Linked DNA regions of Homo sapiens: region 1 is linked to region 2. Evidence: promoter capture Hi-C in 16 types of primary human blood cells and fetal thymus (Javierre and others, 2016). All regions are on one chromosome and are shown on one strand. Each heading gives the region's core, a stretch centred on a gene start or on the middle of the fragment in contact. The rest is flanking DNA. Distances are from core to core; before and after follow the strand shown. Region 1 overlaps LOC100507513 (a long non-coding RNA gene). Region 2 holds the start of TTC5 (tetratricopeptide repeat domain 5).

What was found. The method cuts DNA at HindIII sites, captures the fragments that hold promoters and counts their contacts. A CHiCAGO score of 5 or more calls a contact.
Region 1: a contact is called between a fragment that was not itself captured here and the fragment with the promoter of TTC5 in region 2, in 4 of 17 cell types (fetal thymus, naive B cells, naive CD4 T cells and 1 more). The highest score is 7.0, in fetal thymus.

What each region holds. Positions count from the first base shown.
Region 1 is chr14:20,866,644-20,871,129 of GRCh38, forward strand. It overlaps LOC100507513 (a long non-coding RNA gene), which reads right to left. Exons shown (of 4, transcript XR_110261.4): 4 at 3,592-3,813. Among named protein-coding and RNA genes, the nearest start is that of RNASE3, 22 kb to the right of the region's middle. The HindIII fragment of the contact is 5,154 bases long and covers 473-4,486 here.
Region 2 is chr14:20,303,518-20,307,629 of GRCh38, forward strand. TTC5 (tetratricopeptide repeat domain 5) reads right to left here and starts at 2,434. Exons shown (of 10, transcript NM_138376.3): 1 at 2,370-2,434. The coding sequence starts at 2,420. RefSeq lists an enhancer at 2,340-2,579. The HindIII fragment of the contact is 10,592 bases long and covers 1-4,112 here.

The sequences.
Region 1 (4,486 bases), core at 1,800-4,299, 560 kb after region 2:
AAAACAGCCTGGGAGCTCATTAACTGTTTGAAATTTTGCCCTCGGTGGTAGTGGCCTCTTCCAAAGAGGTGTTTTGAGTGCATGTGACTACCAGGGTGGGAACTTGTTCTTGTTGAAGTTCTTGTTCTTTGTTTCAGTTTAGAGTGTTAAAAACATATGTCACTGCTGGCAAAAGGACACTACATGCAATTTGAACCAAAAACCCTTATTTATTAACCCACTAAAAGATATCTACATCAGCCTACAGGGCTATTGACATTCTATAGACGAAGTCAAAGTGCAGGAGGGAGCAAGAACAACCTCAGACCCATGGTGTGCTTGCTTGACTTCAGATACTTATAATTTTGTTCTCCTTCAAATCTTCTCCAGGTGAGCATAAAAAAAATGGATGTACTCTTCCAGAATTTTCCTTCACCTACTTTATGAAAATAGTCATTTTTCACCTTCCTCCAGATTTCAAAAACGCCAGCAAAGCTTGATTTGGGAAGTGGTGCCCCCTGCTGCAGAGATGTTGCAGAGAGAAAATTCCTTGTGCTCTTCTGTCAGTGAGGAACTGCTCCAAGTCATTCACACTCCTTCACCTCGGTTTCTAGTAGGCTGATGACAGGGAGTGAGAGATGGAAACTCAGTTCCCTCAAAGGAATCTGGCCAGCTCAGGCTGTGGGCCTCAGTTGTGGGGAAGATTGAGTTATGATGGGAGATTCCTTATAGTTCTAAGACATGTGGAGATGAATTAGAAGGAAGCTAACCAATATTGCACAGATATTGTGCTGTGTATGATTCGTTTATGTATTTATAAAGGATGCCTCGTTCCCCACTAAAGTGCATTTGTTTTGATAGAGGGTTTTCACTCCACTTGGTCAAATTACAAATATGTTGTTATTAAGAAATTTCATAACTATGTTTATGTAAAATGTGGTTTTAAATGTAATTTTTGAGAGAATTTATTTAAAAGGGAAAAACATGCTTATATGTGAAAAGTGGGTAATATAAACATGTTGCTTGTTTTTGAGAGAAAGTCTGTGGAAGAACTAATGAGAATCTAGGCTAAGGCTCCTATAAACTTCAATCTCTAGTGAGAGTTTTATCATAAAGTCCAGGCAGCTGTGCTGTCATTGAACATTGAGCATCAGTATCCCCATATCTCTAAAGGGGAATGCTAAGCTGAGTTTTCTGCAGACCACGACCACCAGCTTTTGAGGTAACTTTAGCCTCCTTATGCAGAAATGAGGAAGAAAATCTTGTAGGTGAGGATCAATGATGCACTAGCTGGGCATCAGTGGCAGCCTGACAGTAAGACACTGATTGTTCCTCTTAAGTTGGTGTATGTCTGTCACTATTACCCTACACATTAGCTTGCTCCCTGCTAGCTTATTGACAGAAACAAATGTAAATGCTGCATTAATCAAGTGTATATGTGTCATAAATATTTTCTCTTAGTATGGCCTATACTTTGAAATCCTGAACCTAAGGGTTTTGGGTTTAACCTTTGGTTATCACTCAAAATGAAACACCTATGTTTTCTTGTAGATCTTGTCCAGAATGGCCTGCTGAATCCTTGAAAGCCGTAAGAGAGACGTATAGCAACCTATTCTGAATCAACTTGTTCAATCTAGCAATTCTGTCACTCTAAGAGAATCTTCTCAGCCTCGTACTCCTTTCTTGGACAACCACTACTTTAAAAGCAGGATCATGTTCAATGGCATTCTGGCAATACAGATGTCCATTAAGTAGAAATGCACAATGTCTACTTGTTGAATATCTAATTGTTCTCCAAATTTATTAACAGGATCTTCTATCTTGATAGGAAAAAAAAATTCATATTTTGAAATCTATCTATCTATCTATATAGATAGATAGATATATTTTCTTTCTGAGAATATATATATTTTTTCTTTTTGAGATGGAGTTTTACTCTTGTTGCCCAGGCTGGAGTGCAATGGCACAGTCTCAGGTCACTGCAACATCCACCTCCTGGGTTCAAGCGATTCTCCTGCCTCAGCCTCCCGAGTAGCTGGGATTACAGGCACCTGCCACCATGCCTGGCTTATTTTTGTATTTTTAGTACAGACGGGGTTTCACCATGTTGGCCAGGCTGGTCTCAAACCCTTGACCTCAAATGATCCACCCGCCTCGGCCTCCCAAAGTGCTGGGATTAGAGGCGTGAGCCACTGCACCTGGCTATATATATATTTTTAGAACTCCTTCTTTCCACAGTGTAGAAAGTACACATTACAAAGCTCAGTCAAATGCCAGGAACTTAAACATCCACACATTAGCATAAATTGTTAATTAATTTCTCAAAAAAAGAAAAAAATGCATCTCACTTGAATTCCAGGGAATCAACCTAAAGTATACTGAGATTCCTAAACTGAACCTTAAAACACAAGACACAGAATCAAAAGTCAAAGAACAAAAGGAACATTCTTCAGCAGGAGATAGGGAGCTGGTTTTAGAAACAGGTGGAGATCACCGAGTCTCAGCATAAGCAAAAGCAACACAGAAACCTAGGCTTTTGAAAAATGTCTAAAATACAGCAAAAGAGAAGGCATTCGAATGTTTTTGTGTAGTAATAGCAGGCTACTAATACAGGAATACAGACTATATTAATCCATGACATTTCAGTGAAACAATAAAAACAACTCTTTGGACATCCAGAAACAAAGGATGTTTTATCTAGTTAACTTTTTTTTTTTTTGAGACAGGGTCTGGCTCTGTCTCCCAGGCTGGAGTGCAGCAGCCCAACCTCGGCTCACTGTGACCTCCACCTCCTAGGCTCAAGCGATCCTCCCACCTCACCCTCCTGAGTAGTCGGGACTACAGGCGTGTGCCACTACGCCCGGCTAATTTTTGTATTTTTTGTAGAGATGGGGTTTCACCATGTTGCCCAGACTGGTCCCAAATTCCTGGACTTAAGTGATCCACTCACCTCACCCTCTCAAAGTGCTGGGATTACAGGCATGAACCACTGCCCCTGGCCCCCTTTTTATTCATATGTGAAGACAATAGAAAGACATTCTTCCATCACTAATATTTACTTAATTAACATTTCTGAGTGCCTTTGATATGACAAGCACTATGCTAAGTGCCATATAGGGAGAGGTGAACAAAACAGACAGGTGCTTGTATCCTAGAAAACTTTGCCTCTGCACACCTTGCTTGTGATAATAATTATAGGGCATATGCCAAACACTGAGCTATAAATCTATGAAGGAAGGATGTTGCTTACTTATCACAAGTGATAACCAGTGATACCAGTATCTATGAGCCATAGAAAAAAAGATTGCCTATTTCCCTGACTAGCTCAGAGGGATACAGCTTAATTCAGAAGATAAAACCTTTTCTTTTTTTTTTCTTTGAGATGGAGTCTTGCTCTGTCGCCAGGCTGGAGTGCAGTGGCGCAGTCTCGGCTCACTGCAACCTCCACTTCCCGGGTTCAAGCAATTCTCCTGTCTCAGCCTCCCGAGTAGCTGGGACAACAGGTGCACGCCACCACGCCCAGCTAATTTTTATATTTTTAGTAGAGACAGGATTTCACCATGTTGGCCAGGTTGGTCTTGATCTCTTGACCTCGTGATCCGCCTGCCTCAGCCTCCCAAAGTGTTGGGATTACAGGCGTGAGCCACTGCACCAAGCCAAGAAAACTCTTTCTTTATGGCAGCATTAGGCACCCCCAATAAGAGCCCACTCACATCATCATGATAGACAGAAACACTGCAGGGGGAAAAATGATCTTGCCTTTGGGCACCAGGACATTGGGACCTCCCAAGTAGTCTGCATCAGTGGATCATAAGGACCAACCATTTATCAAATCTGGGAAAGACAAAAGGCAAGCATAAGATTAAAAAGTAATGCAGGTCTTCGCCAGATGGCTCTGCTGCTTAATAAGTAAAATCACAATCACAGAAGGTGATAACCAAGGATAATTAGGTAAACGACCACACTCCATTTAATCACAGTTCAGAAGATCTTCCCTAATTTCTGCTGAAGTCTCTTCAATAATTTCACCTACCTCTGGAAGAAACTAGAGGACTAATGGGAAGAGTCCATTGGTGTTTATGTGGGAAAAGGAAGGTGCAAGCCATTTCAGCTCAAGGAAAGAAAGGAAGGGAGGGAGGGAGGAAGAAAGAGAAAGAGAAATGAGGAAAGGAAGGAACGGAAAAGAGAGAAAAGAAGAAAGGAGGGTAGAAGAAAGAAAGGAGGGAGGGAGGAAAGAAGAGAAACTGACTTTCCAAAGACACAGCTGAAGCAGCAGCTAAGAGGTAACATTATGAAAGTATGGGGTATCATTCTTCAGGATGCAGTGTATTTATTAAATCAGAGGCCTGTAAAGGGTACTGTGTTCCCAATAGGAAGAATACACGGATCCAGGAACCGAGAAGTAGAAGCAGGAGTAGCTCCACTTACCATCTCTCTGATTGACCCACTCAGATATGTTGTGCTTTCATTTCTGTAACTCTAGGCTCTGCAGGGTCAAAGGTCCAGG
Region 2 (4,112 bases), core at 1,184-3,683:
TCCTGAATTCATCCACCTGTCTCCATCCCACTATGACCATTCCTGGATTACATCAGCTTCATTACTTGCCTGGACTGCAAGAGCTTCTTAACCAGTCATCTTGTTTCTGTTCTCTCCCATTCTCCTCACTGTAGTGGGAGTGATCTTATAAAAAACGTACATCATATCACAAACCTTCAAATAGTTTCCCATTGCAGACAGAATAAAATCCAAGTCCTTATCATGACCTAGAAGACTGTATGAGCTGACCTACCACCACCCATCCTGACACAAACTTCACCTCTCACCATTCTCTCTCCTACAATACTCAAGCCAGAGTTGCCTTCATGCAGTTTCTCAAACCCATCAAGCTCAGCCCACCTGGAAGACCTTATGCCTGGACACTTTCTCCAGATCTCTGCATAACTTATTCCTCATCATCATTTAGATCTTAGGTCAAATATCAATTCCAGAAAGGTTTTCCCTAATTACTCAACCCAAATGAATCCATTCCTTCTCTCCTCTACTGTTATATCATACTCTTATTTTTCTTCATACTTATTTAAAATCATGTGGCCTATCATTAATTGTCTATTGTCTGCCTCCACCACTGAAATGTAAGCTCCAGGATGGAAAGGCCTTTAATCTGTTTTGTTTCGAGCTACACCTGAGCACCAGAACGGGACTTGGGACATGATAGGCTCTAATTCACTACACTTGATTGAATTAACTAACTAACTATCCCTGTTCTAACAAATACATATGTGCTATACTTAATTTAAAATCCTATCCAGAATGAAGGGAACAGACTAGCACCCTCTGCAAATTTTATTGTATTATATCCAAGACCCAGCCTGCAGAGACTCTGATTTTAACAGTTTAGCAGAACTCAAAATTCTACATTTTTAACAGGCACCCCAGATGACTGTAATGAAACTGTCTGTAAAACACACTTTGAGAAATATCCATTTATACACTCTTTTTACACTAAAATGTCTTTAACAATGAAATCAAAGTTTACCACCATCTCCATGAACAGCAACACCATTATCTAATCCTTTTCCTCTTCTCTACTTCACTCCTTTATTCCATTCCTGCACCGACCCCACCCCAAGATAACGGAAGTATCCTCTCCCAAGCTGCTTAGGACATTTACCACAAATGAACCTAGGAAAAGACAATTCTCATAAAAAATTACAACCAATTTCCTTTTGTCCTGCAATCAACATGGCTGCAAATTAAGAGTTTTAGAGAAGGGCTTATTGATTGGTTTTAGTTGTTAAACCAAACATTCAAGAAGTTGTTTGGTTTTATTGTTTGGTTTTGTTTTCCTCTGGACTGAATGTTTTTAGAAACTTATTTTTTCATGGCAAAATCAATACATGTAAGTTGTTAAAATTCAAATAGATACATGTAAAAAAAAGAAAGTACAAAATTACCCCAAAGAACCTCAGTGATAACCACTGATTTGTATACCTTTTCAGATTTTTTTCTGTGCATATACAAACATATATACACAAATAATGTTTCTAATATAGAACCAGAATTGAGAATCTCTGATTTCAGCCAGTCACAGTTAGGGAATAAAATGAAGTTAATCCAAATCAGCTGGAACACTCTAAAAAGTGTTACTATTTTAATGTACCCAAGAACAAAGAAATTTCACCAGTATTTAAATTTGTGCGTTAAACACCTTTAGGCAAGTTACAAGCCTGTCATAGTTCTAATATTTAAGTTACAGGCTGCCTTAGAACGAAGAACTGAGTTCCTGAGGTGTAAGGAAAATCATGGGTTCTTAAAGGCAAAGAGCCAAGCAACTAGTTAACGCCTCCCTACCAAGTCCAAAAGACTAGTCTTACCTGTGGACTATGTGGAGTCTGGACCCCTCTGCATCAGACCCCAAAGTGGAATTACACAGGTTGAAAGAAATCAAAACTGAAATCCTAAGGGGAGTAACCAGGACACTTGCAGTGCAGGTCATTAGCGTGATTGTTGCCAAATTCAAAGCAGAAAGGTGTTAAATGGCTTTTGTAGGGATCAAAACAACATGTGACAGTAGTTCATGCAGATCTGCCACACACATGTATATGCTATTCGCTATGGATGAATCGAGAAAACAACGTCCTCTCTAAAAATGTACATGAACAGTTAGGAGCAACAAATCTTCTTCCATACAGGACTGAAATTAACCGCAGTCAGGTCGGCAGCAGGAGGTTCCAACGAGGCTCCCTGGCTGGCTGCGGCTGCACCCTCGAGGGTTGTTATAGTAACCACACAGACGCACGCAGCTTCGCGTGTGTGCCGAGGAATTCACGGGCAGTACATAAACTGGACTCCCTGCTTCATTCGGAGTAACAAAAACACATACAGAATTTAATCTACGGCCCCACCTGCAATTTCTGCAAGATCGGCTTGACTTCTTCCTCTTCATCAGCCATCATCTCCCGGCCACTCCACCCCCAACTTTATAACCACAGAGACGCACGCCCTCTCTCACCGCGGAACCACAGCGACATCTGGCGTTCTGGAGGCTTTTCTGCCCCAGAAGGGCTTTGCTTCAAACCGACTTAACCATTTATTTCCACAGAGATGCTCTACAATCACTTGTGAGTTCATAAACTTCTTTCTTTCCCAGATCCTGGAAACAAAATGTCCTCAGCTTAATTTCTATATTCTTGTTTCATGTCTTCCTACTTATTTATACTAAGATTATAATACTCCATAAAGAAGAGAGTTTAAGAAGTGCACACCTGTGTTGTTTGAAATTTCGAAAGCCATGTAGTACAATAGCTACTTTACTCAATCTTTTCCAAACTTTGCAGTAATTTTCTATGTATGATTAATTTTATCATTTTAATGCACTATCTTAATAAATACTACACTTGGGATGGCTCATAAAAACCACCATGCTCTACACTAACAATGCCTCCATATTTATAGACAACATCCAGAAGGATATATAAGAAAGGATGACTGTCTCTGCAGAGGGAAACACAGAAACTGGGGAACTGTGGGTGAGCGAAGAAAATTTTCACTGCCTGCCCTTTTGAATTTTCTTGCCATCTATATGTATCACCTATTCAAATATAAACATTTTTAAATAAAAAATTATTTGCTTCTACATAGTCTCTGGAAAGAGACACAAGACACTGGCAAGACTATCGCTTACAAAGAGCAGAAGTGAGTGGCTGGAGCAAAAATGAGTGACCAGGGAACTGGGGTAGACTTTTCACTCTATGCCTTTTTTGTAACTTTAAAGTTTGTACCTTGTGAATATATTAAACTTCTGAATAAATCTTTTAAAGTGTCATGTAATATTCCTGGCAGTTTTGCTTTACTTTTTTAGTTTTAATTACAGCTTCAAGCTGATTCTGTGAAACTAACAAAGAAGTAAAACGTTCAAGGCAGAAATCATGAATATACATAAAATCATTTCCTCAAATCATTTTCCAACATAAAGGAAATAGTTTGTATTGTAACCTATAAAATCTATGTCGTTAGCTGTAAAATAGGGAGGGATGTTTTAAAAATTTTTTTTTGAGATGGAGTCTCACTGTGTAGCCCAGGCTGGAGTGCAATGGCGCCATCTCGGCTCACTGCAACCTCGGCCTCCCAGGTTCAAGCGATTCTCCCGCCTCAGCCTCCCGAGTAGCTGGGGCTACAGGTGCATACCACCACGCCCGGCTAATTTTTTGTATTTTTAGTAGAGACGGGATTTCACCGTGTTAGCCAGGATGGTCTCGATCTCCTGACCTCATGATTCACCCGCCTCAGCTTCCCAAAGTGCTAGGATTACAGGCGTGAGCCACCACACCCGGCCCTAAAACTTTAAAATTTTTCATCCTCTTTCTCAGACATTTTAACTTTGGTGCACACGAGGCTGGGCACGGTGGCTCACACCTGTAATCCCAGCACTTTGGGAGGCCAAGGCGGGCAGATCACTTGAGGTCAGTTCAAGACAAGCCTGGCCAATGTGGTAAAACCCCATCTCTACTAAAGATACAAAAATTAGCCAGGTGTGGTGGCATGCACCTGTAATCCCAGCTACTTGGGAGGCCAAGACAGGAGAACCACTTGAACCCAGGAGGCAGAGGTTGCAGTGAGCCAAGATGCTGCCACTGCACTCCAGCCTG